Regions from separate parts of the Homo sapiens genome. Here region 1 is linked to region 2. Evidence: promoter capture Hi-C in human tissues and cell types (Jung and others, 2019). All regions are on one chromosome and are shown on one strand. Each heading gives the region's core, a stretch centred on a gene start or on the middle of the fragment in contact. The rest is flanking DNA. Distances are from core to core; before and after follow the strand shown.

The links. Contacts are between HindIII fragments. The study calls those that stand out against the background at their distance.
Region 1: the fragment with the promoter of PDE6B here is called in contact with a fragment that was not itself captured in region 2 in 2 of the 25 tissues and cell types used here (dorsolateral prefrontal cortex and lymphoblastoid cells).

The regions. Positions count from the first base shown.
Region 1 is chr4:622,667-628,047 of GRCh38, forward strand. It overlaps PDE6B (phosphodiesterase 6B), which reads left to right and starts at 2,907. Exons shown (of 22, transcript NM_000283.4): 1 at 2,907-3,428. The coding sequence starts at 2,961. RefSeq lists enhancers at 603-1,593, 2,583-3,572, 3,573-4,561. The HindIII fragment of the contact is 19,693 bases long and covers 2,020-5,381 here.
Region 2 is chr4:122,766-128,229 of GRCh38, forward strand. ZNF718 (zinc finger protein 718) reads left to right here and starts at 1,736. Exons shown (of 4, transcript NM_001039127.6): 1 at 1,736-1,908. The coding sequence starts at 1,906. LOC124900641 reads right to left here and starts at 2,826. Exons shown (of 1, transcript XM_047416469.1): 1 at 439-2,826. The coding sequence starts at 2,483. The coding sequence ends at 2,007. RefSeq lists enhancers at 1,721-2,160, 2,451-2,650, 2,911-2,970. The HindIII fragment of the contact is 5,599 bases long and covers 1-4,050 here.

The sequences.
Region 1 (5,381 bases), core at 1,657-4,156, 500 kb after region 2:
TGCGTCTCACGTGTGTCTCACAGGTGCATCTCACAGGTGCATGTCACAGGTGTGTCTCACAGGTGCATGTCACAGGTGCGTCTCACATGTGTGTCTCACAGGTGCATCTCACGTGTTTCTCACAGGTGCGTCTCAGGTGCATGTCACAGGTGTGTCTCACAGGTGCATGTCACAGGTGCGTCTCACATGTGTGTCTCACAGGTGCGTCTCACGTGTGTCTCACAGGTGCGTCTCACAGGTGTGTCTCAGGTGCATGTCACAGGTGAGCCTCACAGGTGCGTCTCACAGGTGCGTCTCACAGGTGTGTCTCACAGGTGTGTCTCACAGGTGCATCTCACAGGTGCATGTCACAGGTGCATCTCACAGGTAAGCCTTACAGGTGCGTCTCACAGCTGTGTCTCACAGGTGTGTCTCACAGGTGTGCCTCACAGGTGTGTCTTTTTGACTGTGTCAAGTCCAACCCAATCAGGGTCCCCCAGCATCATCAGTAGGTATGTAGGGAAGTGAGATGGGGAAAAGATAGAACCAATAGTGTGCCATGGAGCAGTTACCTCTGGGCCCCTGCAGGTAAGGGAGCTGCGGTGTTCACACACAACTCCCATGGTCATGGCTCAGGGTTCCCCAGAGGCTGTGGACTCCTTGCCGCCCTGAACCTACTCACCTACAATCACGACGGGCTCCTGGGGCAGGACAAAGCCACAGGTGAGGAACGCGGTGCTGCGGGTGGAAGCTGCTGTCACAGTCGTGTTAGGGTGAGTGGACTATGGCCGCAGACTGTGGGCTCCTCCCAGCCAACCCTCACTCCCGCTAGCGCCCCAAATCTTCAGTCCAGCACCCCTTCCCCGTCCCACCCACTCTCCACACTGAGCCCTCCCAGCCAACCCTCACTCCCGCTAGCACCACAAATCCTCAGCCCAGCACCCCTTCCCTGTCCCACCTGCTCTCCACACTGAGCCCAGCCACTCCACGCTCCCTTGGGCAGGTGGCAAGGCAGAGCCTGAGGTCAGCTGCCACCCCCAGCCCCACCCCAGGGCCCTCATGCCCCCAGCAAGGCCTCTCCAGCTCTGCGGTCCCACTCAAGATGCGCTTAGCTCATTTCACACGCAGGTGAGTGTCTCAGTTCTGCGGGCACGGAGGCCCCTGTGGGAGGGAGGTTGGCAGGCCCCTCGCTGACGGAGGGGAGCAAGGGGCAAAGTGGGGGTGTCCAGAAGGGGGTTGTGAGGAACTGGGGGACGGGAAAGAGCCCGGAGAGGAAAAAGGAGGTGGGGAGGGGCTGCGTGTGCATAGACCTCAGGGTGGGGCAACCGAGGACCTGAAGGCTGGTTTCCGGCCGCCATCCTCACATCCAGGCGCAATGTGAGCTCATCCCTGGGAGTTGGGAAATGCAACCGGCAGGCTCTGGAGGCTGTTCTGGGACTGAATGCAAAGCAGGCGACCCTCCCCCCGGCCCCAAACCCAAGCACTGCAGCGGCCCCACAACCCCTCCCCCCACCCACATCCCCACTCCCCCGTCCCCAGTGAGAATTCACTATTTTTAGGAAAAAGGGGAAGCCTCTCAGCAGATCCTTGAAAGGAAGTGACTTTGTGACTAAGTGGAGGCAGGAACATCATGGCACAAGGGCACACGTCGCACACCCAGCTGGGCCCACTGTGGACGGCGCAGATGCTGCCTCAGAGCAGCCTCCGAGACAGGCAGCTGCAGCGGTGCAGCCCAGGGCCCTCGCAGAAGCTTCCCCGGGGCCTGGCCTCGTGCTGAGAGAACTCTGCGCTCCTGAGGGCACCTGGCTGTCATGCACACGTGCTCACACGAACACACACACCTACACGTGCGCACACTCACACTCCGTGCACACACGTATGTGCACACTCATGCACGCGTGCACACACGTCTACCAGCTGAGTGCAGTAAAAGAACCACATGAAAACCTTGCATCCTGGTTAAAAGTATGGTGACAACATGGACAGATAAACTGGAAAAGATGGGAAGAAACCTTAAGCCCAGGATCTGGCAGCACAAAGGTGCCTGGAAAGCGACAATCAGCGTTTTTATATTCAGGGAAATCAGGAACACTGCCACCCGCCCGCCAGGCCGGCGCCCATGCCAGACCCAGCCAAGGTGCTTCTGGCCACATCACCCCTGCTGGCCTGCAGGGAGCTGGCCCAGGAGCCGAGAGGCCTATGGGAGCAGGCAAGGCTTGCTGAGGTGACAGCGGAGAGGAGAGGTCGGGCTTTGTTGCCAGGCAGCCCCCCAACATTCAGGTCCTTTTTCCACTGAAAGCCATGTGGCCTCAGAGCGGCGTCACCCCGAAGCTTGTCCCAGCCGGGGCCTGACAGCAGGTAAAGGCTGACTAGCAACTCTGCATCCCTCAGAGTGTGGGGGAAGGTGGATGTGGTCCCACCTCCACATCCAGGGTCCCCTTGCTGGCCTCTGGGCATTTGGGTCCTGGTGTGATTACCCAGCCCCCTCTCCCTGCACAGGGGTGAACTGCATCTCCTGGAGGCAGGGCCAGTGCCCCACCACCTCCCCAGCACACCCGAGCCCAGGTCTGGGCTCCCAGGAGGGCCTGGGGCCACCTGTGGGACCAACCCAAACCCTCAGGCAGCTCCACCAGCAGAAAGCGTCATGCTGTGTGTGGGATAACCTCCTCAGGGGATTAGTTCTCAGGGCCTGGTCCGCTAGAAGCCAAATGCCTGTGCCCAGCCACCCGTGACGCCTGCAACAGGCAGGAGATCCCCCAACAGTTACTCCCAGCCTTCATTCCACAGGGTCTGGTTTTCCTGGAAGGTGGGAAGTCCCAGGGTCTGAGGAGAGGGAGCGCAGGCCCCCATTTGTAGGAGTGAGTCAGCTGACCCGCCCCCGGGGTTCCTAATCTCACTAAGAAAGACTTTGCTGATGACAGGGTTTCCTGGGAGTCCATGCGTGCCTGGAGCAGCAGCGTCTCCAGGGACAGGCAGCCACCATGAGCCTCAGTGAGGAGCAGGCCCGGAGCTTTCTGGACCAGAACCCCGATTTTGCCCGCCAGTACTTTGGGAAGAAACTGAGCCCTGAGAATGTGGCCGCGGCCTGCGAGGACGGGTGCCCGCCGGACTGCGACAGCCTCCGGGACCTCTGCCAGGTGGAGGAGAGCACGGCGCTGCTGGAGCTGGTGCAGGATATGCAGGAGAGCATCAACATGGAGCGCGTGGTCTTCAAGGTCCTGCGGCGCCTCTGCACCCTCCTGCAGGCCGACCGCTGCAGCCTCTTCATGTACCGCCAGCGCAACGGCGTGGCCGAGCTGGCCACCAGGCTTTTCAGCGTGCAGCCGGACAGCGTCCTGGAGGACTGCCTGGTGCCCCCCGACTCCGAGATCGTCTTCCCACTGGACATCGGGGTCGTGGGCCACGTGGCTCAGACCAAAAAGATGGTGAACGTCGAGGACGTGGCCGAGGTGGGTCTGTGCGGAGCCTCAGGGAGGCGGCTGTGTGCATCTCTTGCACCTGTCCCAGGTGTCTAAGGGTCAGCTCGGATCCTCAGGCCTCCAGGGAGGCCTCTTGTCAGGGCACAGGCTAGTTCTGTGCTGAGGAGCAAGTACCTAGAGCCCCCTCCCGGCACTGTGCCCTGGCCGCCTGCCTCTCCGACTCGGCTTCTGGCTCAAGCTGACATCGCATGGCCACTGAGTTGGTTAGACCTGAGTCTAGGAGCCTCGGCTGAAGCAGACTCAGGCTCAAACCGGGGTGCCCCTGATTCTGCATCCACATCCCATGGTGGGGACCATGTAGTCCCTGTGAGGACCCCTGGCTTCCAGGAAGACTGACCAGATGGGGGCTTCAGGGCTCTCTGGGCTGGGAGGGAGGCCCTGCCTTGGGATTTGGGAAGAAGAGGTCACAGTCGAAGGTGGTGCAGACGCCCACAGGGAGGGAGAGCCAGGGGAACCCCAAACTTCCACTGTGGCAGAAGCAGCTTTATCCCATGGGAGCCCACGCCAGCCGCCAGGGGAGAACAAACCTGGTAGCCACTGAGCACAGGGGTCCAGGGTGGGACTGGGGAGGGACAAGAGACAGAATCGAGACAGGCTCACTGGAGTCACTGAAGGAGGGAAGGGCAGGGCCTGTTCATGCAAAGCCTGGGCTAGGGCAGACGCTTCCCGAGGACAGAGGCGGTCCTGGCGGGACTGGAGAACAAGAGGGGTGTGAGGTGCCTGCCAGACTGGGTGAGGGCAGCGGCCAGCAGAGACCTGGAAAGGCCCTGAGGAGCTGCCCGGCAAGGGGGCTCTGAGGAAGAAGGGGAGGGGGGAAGCCCCTTCTCCCTGTCCTGCACCCGTCCCAGCTTCCTCTCCCCTTTTCTGTCCCCACAGCTAAGGAGGCTGCAAGAGGCCCAGGCAGCCTCCGCTCTTGCTGGATGAGCCTTGGGAATTACCCACCAGGCTGCCAGCCCAGGGGCAGGTGTGGTCCCTCCTTCCCAGGCAGCTGGGGAGTGGCAATCCTGGTTTGTTTTCGTTTGTGGGTTTTTTTTTTTTTTGAGACAGAGTCTTGCTCTGTCACCAGGCTGGAGTACAGTGGCATGATGTCAGCTCACTGCAACCTCCGTCTCCCACGTTCAAGCGATTCTCCTGCCTTGGCCTCCTGAGTAGCTAGGACTAGAGGTGCCCGCCACCACACCCGGCTAATTTTTGTATTTTTAATAGAGACAGAGTTTCGTCATGTTGGTCAGGCTGTTCTCGAACTCCTGACCTCAGGTGATCAACCTGCCTCAGATTTCCAAAGTGCTGGGATAACAGGCGTGAGCCACCGCACCAGGCCGGAAGTGGCAATCCTCTTATCCCAATGGCAGTAAGCAAGCAGCAAGGCAGTGACCTAGATTCAGTAATCCCCGGGTTACCTTCATCTCCACCTCCCTCCTAAGAAGTGGGGCACCCACAAATCAATCGTGCATCAGGAGCATGAGTTACCAGGAAGCCAGGAAACTTCACAGCAGTGGGGCCTGGGGTGGACACCAGCTGCTCCTCCCTCCCCCCGTTCCCTCCTCCCTCCTCCCCTCACTCTCCTGCCACCCTCCTCCCTCCTTTTCTGCCATCCTCCCCGTCTCCCTTCCTTCCTCCTGCACACAATCCCCAAGACAACTTCTCATCCCCACCCTGTCCCAAATCTGGGCTGTGTCTTTCTTGCCCCCAGGAGTTTGTCCCCCGCTGCCACCACCCCTTCACCCCTTTGTCCCCACCCGGCTGATGGTGTCTCTTCCCTGCTCTGCGGGTCCCCCTCAAACTGCTGGGCTGTCCTAGGTCCGTCCCTCGGCCTGGCCTGTTCCCCAGGGCTGTTCTAGGTCCTGCCACCCCCACCCCCAGTGCCATGGCCGCACCTGCCCCAGGACTGACCTCCGAGGCCTCTCCCCTGCCCAGTGTAGC
Region 2 (5,464 bases), core at 1-2,500:
TTCTTTTTTTTTTTTTTTTTTTGAGACGGAGTCTTGCTCTGTCGCTCAGGTTGGAGTGCAGTGGTGCAATCTCGGCTCACTGCAAGCTCTGCCTCTCGGGTTCACGCCATTCTCCTGCCTCAGCCTCCTGAGTAGCTGGGACTACAGGTACCCGCCACCACGCCTGGGTAATTTTTTTGTATTTTTAATAGAGACGGGCTTTCACCATGTTAGCCAGGATGGTCTCGATCTCCTGACCTCGTGATCCACCCACCTCAGCCTCCCAAAGTGCTGGGATTACAGGCGTGAGCCACAGCGCCTGGCAAAATATAGGTATTCCTAATTATGTGTCTGGAGTTGGTTCCTTCCGGTGGGTTTGTGGTCTTGCTGACCAAGAATGAAGCCACGGACCTTTGTGGTGAGTGTTACAGCTTTTAAAGATAGCACGAACCCAAAGAGTGAGCAGTAGCAAGGTTTATTTTGAAGAGGGAAATAACAAAGCTTCCACAGCATCGAAGGGGACCCCAGTTGGTTGCCACTGCTGGCTGGGGTGGTCAGCTTTTATTCCACCTCCCATTTCCCCTTAATTGTGCCCTCCCGTGTTCCGTTTTTGTCCTATCACAGTGCCCTTTTTTCAATCCTCCCTGCAATTGGCTACTTTTAGGATCCTGCTGATTGGTGCATTTTACAGAGTGCTGATTGGTGCATTTTACAATCCCCTTGCTAGCTACAGAGCACTGATTGGTGCGTTTTTACAGAGTGCTGATTGGTACATTTTACAATCCTCTTGTAAGACAGGAAAGTTCTCCAAGTCCCCAGTTTACCCAGGAAGTCCAGCTGGCTTCACCTCTCAATTATATATTGATCACATATTAAAACAATAATATTTTGGATATAGTAGGCTAAAATTATCACAAACAATCTCACTTGTTTTTATTATTTTCGATGTGGCTAATAAAAAATTGAAAATTCACTAATAGCTAACATTTTATTTTTTAGAGGATTACTTCCTTCTTAAAATCTCATGTGTCCTACTCAAAAGACCAGAGGCCAGAAAGGTTATAAAACATTAAAATAATTGTCATTATATTGTTTCCGTTTGTGAACAAGTTTGTGTATGCACGCGTGCATGTGTACGTGTGTGTGCATGTGCGTGCATGCATGCGTGTGTGTATAATTTATATTATAAATGGACCTAACCTTACATACCACAAGGTTAAAAAAATGACCACTGGGCTGTACCAAGCCAAGCACAGAGATAACACCCCAGCCTGGGCCGGGCGTGGTGGCTCACGCCTTTAATCCCAGCATTTTGGGAGACATAGGCGAACAGATACCCTGAGGTCAGGAGTTCAAGACCAGCCTGGCCAACATGGTGAAACCCTGTCTCTGCTAAAAATACAGAAATTGGCCGGGTGTGGTGGTGGGCACCTGTAATCCCAGCTACTTGGGAGGCTGAGGAGAATCGCTTAAACCCGGGAGGCAGAGGTTGCAGAGAGCCGAGTTCGCGCCACTGCACTCCAGCCTGGGCGAGAAGAGCCAGACTCAAAAAACAAACACAAAAAACCTGCCTCAAAGTACCAGGAGGCCAGAGCCTGTCACTCTCGCCTCATTCAGTGCTGTGTATGGTTGCAACTTCTGTCACTCAAGGCCTGAGGCGGGAGACTTACAGCTCTATCCAATTAGAGCGCTGGATTGACAACTGCCGAATGAGGCGCGCAGCAGAGAGGAGGGTGCGGCATCCGGGATCTGGCGCGGCTTTTGCTTGTAGCTCCAGCCAGAGCTCGGTTAGGGCCTCATCGCTCTGCTCCCGCTCCTTAGGGAAGCCTCGGTGATTCTGCCACAGCCTCAGCCTCTGTGGCTCTGTGACCTGCCGGTATTGGATGATTCGTATCTAAGACTCTGGGACACTCCTGAAGTCGGGAAATGGTGAGTGTGCAGGGCAGGGCGTCCCAAGGCTGTGGAGGCCTCATCGGAACCGGCGGGAAATGGCGGCGGTGGGAGGAGTCTGTGAATGGAGTTCCCGCTCAGCCCTCTGTCCTCAGTCCCCTCCGGTGAGGGACCCGCGCTCTTGTCAGTCCCCGTACAGCGGCTCTGGCCCAGCCTGCAGCCCTCCTTGTGCAGCTCTGCGCCGGTAGCCCTGCACTTTCCCCGGGCTGTGGAGTGAGTAGGAGCTCATCCGGAAGACACCGCGGCGGCCTGCGCGGTGCCGGCGTGGGAGGAGCTGTGGTCCGGAATCCCGTCCCTACTTTACCCTGTTCAGAATGAGATTGAGGCCCCATCAAAACATGGAGTTCATGTGAGCAAACAGGACTTATTAATGGGAAAGCTCTGCCGTGGCTCGTGGTTTGGGGACTGCCAGCGGGTCTTGAAGGAAAGGCTTTTGTGAGGTGTGTGAGGAAGCGAAGCAAATCACCTGCCTGCGCCAACTTTGCCGCCAGTCCCCTTGCCCTGTGCGCCTCCTCCGCGTGGCTGTTCCTGAATACGCTGGTGTCTGTTCGCATCTTTTAGAATACGCTGGTGTCGGTGCGCACAGCGCTTCTCTTAGTTCTGTGAGTAGTTCTGCCACATTATTGAACTTGAGGAGGGTGTGGGCGTCCCTGGTTTGTAGGCAGGGGTTCAGAAATGAAGACGGGTGTCCAGAGGCAGGGACTGGCGTCTGCAGGAGAGCAGCTGCGGGAAGAGTGCTGAGCTTGTGGGGTCAGCGCTGACTCTGGGTGGTGTCGTTAGTGAGTTGCTGGACACCCCGTTGGGGTTGGAGCATTGACTGGTGTTGAGGAAACTCCGCAAGTTTTCTGTCAGAAGAAAGACATGGCCGAGTCTGGGTTGGAGGAAGTCACCTGGTGTCCGCAGGAGGCGCGGCCGGGTTCTGCACAGGCGCTGTCCCGCTGGGCACTGTCCTCTTCCTCCAGGCCTCCTCCCGGGGAGAAAGGGGACTGGGAACTTAGAGGAAAGCAGTTCTAAGAAACATCCCTTCCCCGCATCCTGCTGCCAGCCCCCACCCAATGCTAACCCACTCCTGAGCACGCCCACTGGGCATTCGCACGGCCACACCTGGCCTAAGACAGGGTTCTACCCTCAGGAATTGTGCCCATGGCAGTTTTGCTCCTACAGTTTTCTGCCAAAAGCACACGCAGTGCCCAGAAGACTCCTGGCTCATCTCAACCCCAGATCTGTTTAGCAGGAGCCCGTTTCCTTCTCCAACCCAGGCTTCTGGACCATCTGATCTTAATCTCCTATGCCTTTATGGACTCAGGAATCAGTCAGTGCGTAGCCCTGCCTGGGCCTGTACCTGTAGCACAAACCAGTCCTTTCATCAGTTGTGCCCTGCCCCCACCCCATGGCTCTTGATAGCTCCTTGCTGTCTTGTGCTTTTTCCTTCCCCACAAATCCTCTTTTCTGTGCATACAGTGTGCCCAAGTTCATCCCTTACGTGCCTACAAGAATTCAGACGTTAGGGAATTCAAGACCATGCCTTAGACCTGGCTGTTGTAGGAGCAAATACAAATTAGAAGAGGCTTAATGATTTCTCTTTAGAGTGAGGGAAGAATTTTTGCTCTTCTCCCTTTTCTTAAAGCATTTAGGTGGAAAATTTTTATAATTATTTTCACCAGTTTTTGAAATATATGTAAATCATTTTTATCAGTTAAATAGGTCATTTGTCTTTTTTGACTCAGACTTGTCTTTATCTAGGACTTGGGAACTATTGCTTTGAAATGTGAATAGCAAGAATATATCCCACAGTTTCTGTAGGAGGGTGGGAGGCTGCCTTCAGCAGGTACCTGGCTCCACATTGTGGGTCTACGTCCTGTCATGAAGATGTGGGAAGTTTATTTTTCTTTTGAATATTACCAATTAGAAAACCCAGATTACCTCCCAAATTACTAGGTGAAATAATAAACTGTGTAAATGGTGCTTTCAAGTCTTCTACTTAAGAACTAATGGTGACTTTTTTTCTGTGTTTGCAGTCTCTTAGTAGATTGCCTGTGATGCACATCACATTTTGGTTTAATTATATAACAAAACATTTTCTTGCTGTTCTATTATGGTGGAAAATTTTTTTAGGATTGGAGATAATTTTTCTCTTTTTTTTTTTTTTTAAGACGGAGTCTTCGCTGTGTCGCCAGGCTGGAGTGCAGTAGTGCGATCTCGGCTCACCGCATTCTCCACCTCCCAGGTTCAAGCGATTCACCTGCTCAGCCTCCTGAGTAGTTGGGATTACAGGCGCGCCACCACACTCAGCTAATTTTTTTGTATTTTTAGTAGAGACGGGGTTTCGCCATGTTGGCCAGGATGGTCTCCATCTTCTGACCTCATGATCCACCGGCCTTGGCCTCCCAAAGTGCTGGGATTATAGGCGTGAGCCACCGTGCCTGGCTGAAAATTTTTCTTTTAGTCATATTTTCCATGCACTGTTTAGAAGTACTGGACGTTATATACAAAGTGCCCACCAGGCTTCACTTGAGAGAAAAACCTTTCTTCTCAGGATTCCAGCCACAACCCACAATTGTATGACAAAGTGCAGCAAGGTGCTCCCCAAATCTGCAAACAAAATAGTCTCTCTATTTGGGATCTACAGTCCCTTCTAGAGCAGTTAGACTAGATTTCTACAAAAATCACTTCAGGACAGCAATCAGTTATTTCACCTCCTTCAGTGCTCCTGTCATCTTCAGATCTGACACGGATTCAGAGATCACGGGGCCCATAAACCCAACCAGGATCATACATGTGCATTGATTAAACTTGAGAACTTCAATTCTCTCCCTCCTCCCTTTGCCCAAATGCCCGCAAATGTGCATAGCTCACCAGCCCTCCAAGACCTAAATGTGCAGTTCCAAATTCTGAATTTATTTTCTGGGATTTGAGAGAAGAAAAGAACTTTTATTTGAGAAATACATGTTCTTTTAATGATCAGACCCAGAGACTGGTTAAAATGAGACCACAGTGATGTACTGTTCCCGTCTTTGAACTATTTGTCTTTTGAAATTGCTTGCTATTGGCACAAGTGGCTATAAATTAACCTAATAATGCCACACTGGACACTATAATCCACACCCAATAGCTTAACAATGTATATAACCAATCACTAACCAATGTTACTTCTGTAAATAAGAATTCCTGACAACTTTCTATCCTGCCTTCCTTTTTGCCTTTACAAATATACTTGTAATTGGAGTGTATATTCAGGTAGCTTTATACTCCAGGATTGCAGTCTTCAAGCTTTGGCCCCAGAAAACTCTCTACTTATATTATGTTTATCCCAGTATTTCCTTTTAGGTCAAAATATTCTTAAGAATGTGTTGAAGGAGCCTCCATGAGGTGATCTCTCCTCTGGTTTTACTCTGCTTACTCTAACCCCTAAGAATGTAGAGGCACATTGATCCCACCTAGAATCTGCATACAAAAGTTGGCCTCTGCCTGGGATTCCCAACACTGGACCAGACTTTGGGTTGAAGACATACGAAAAACTCACAGAAGACATTTT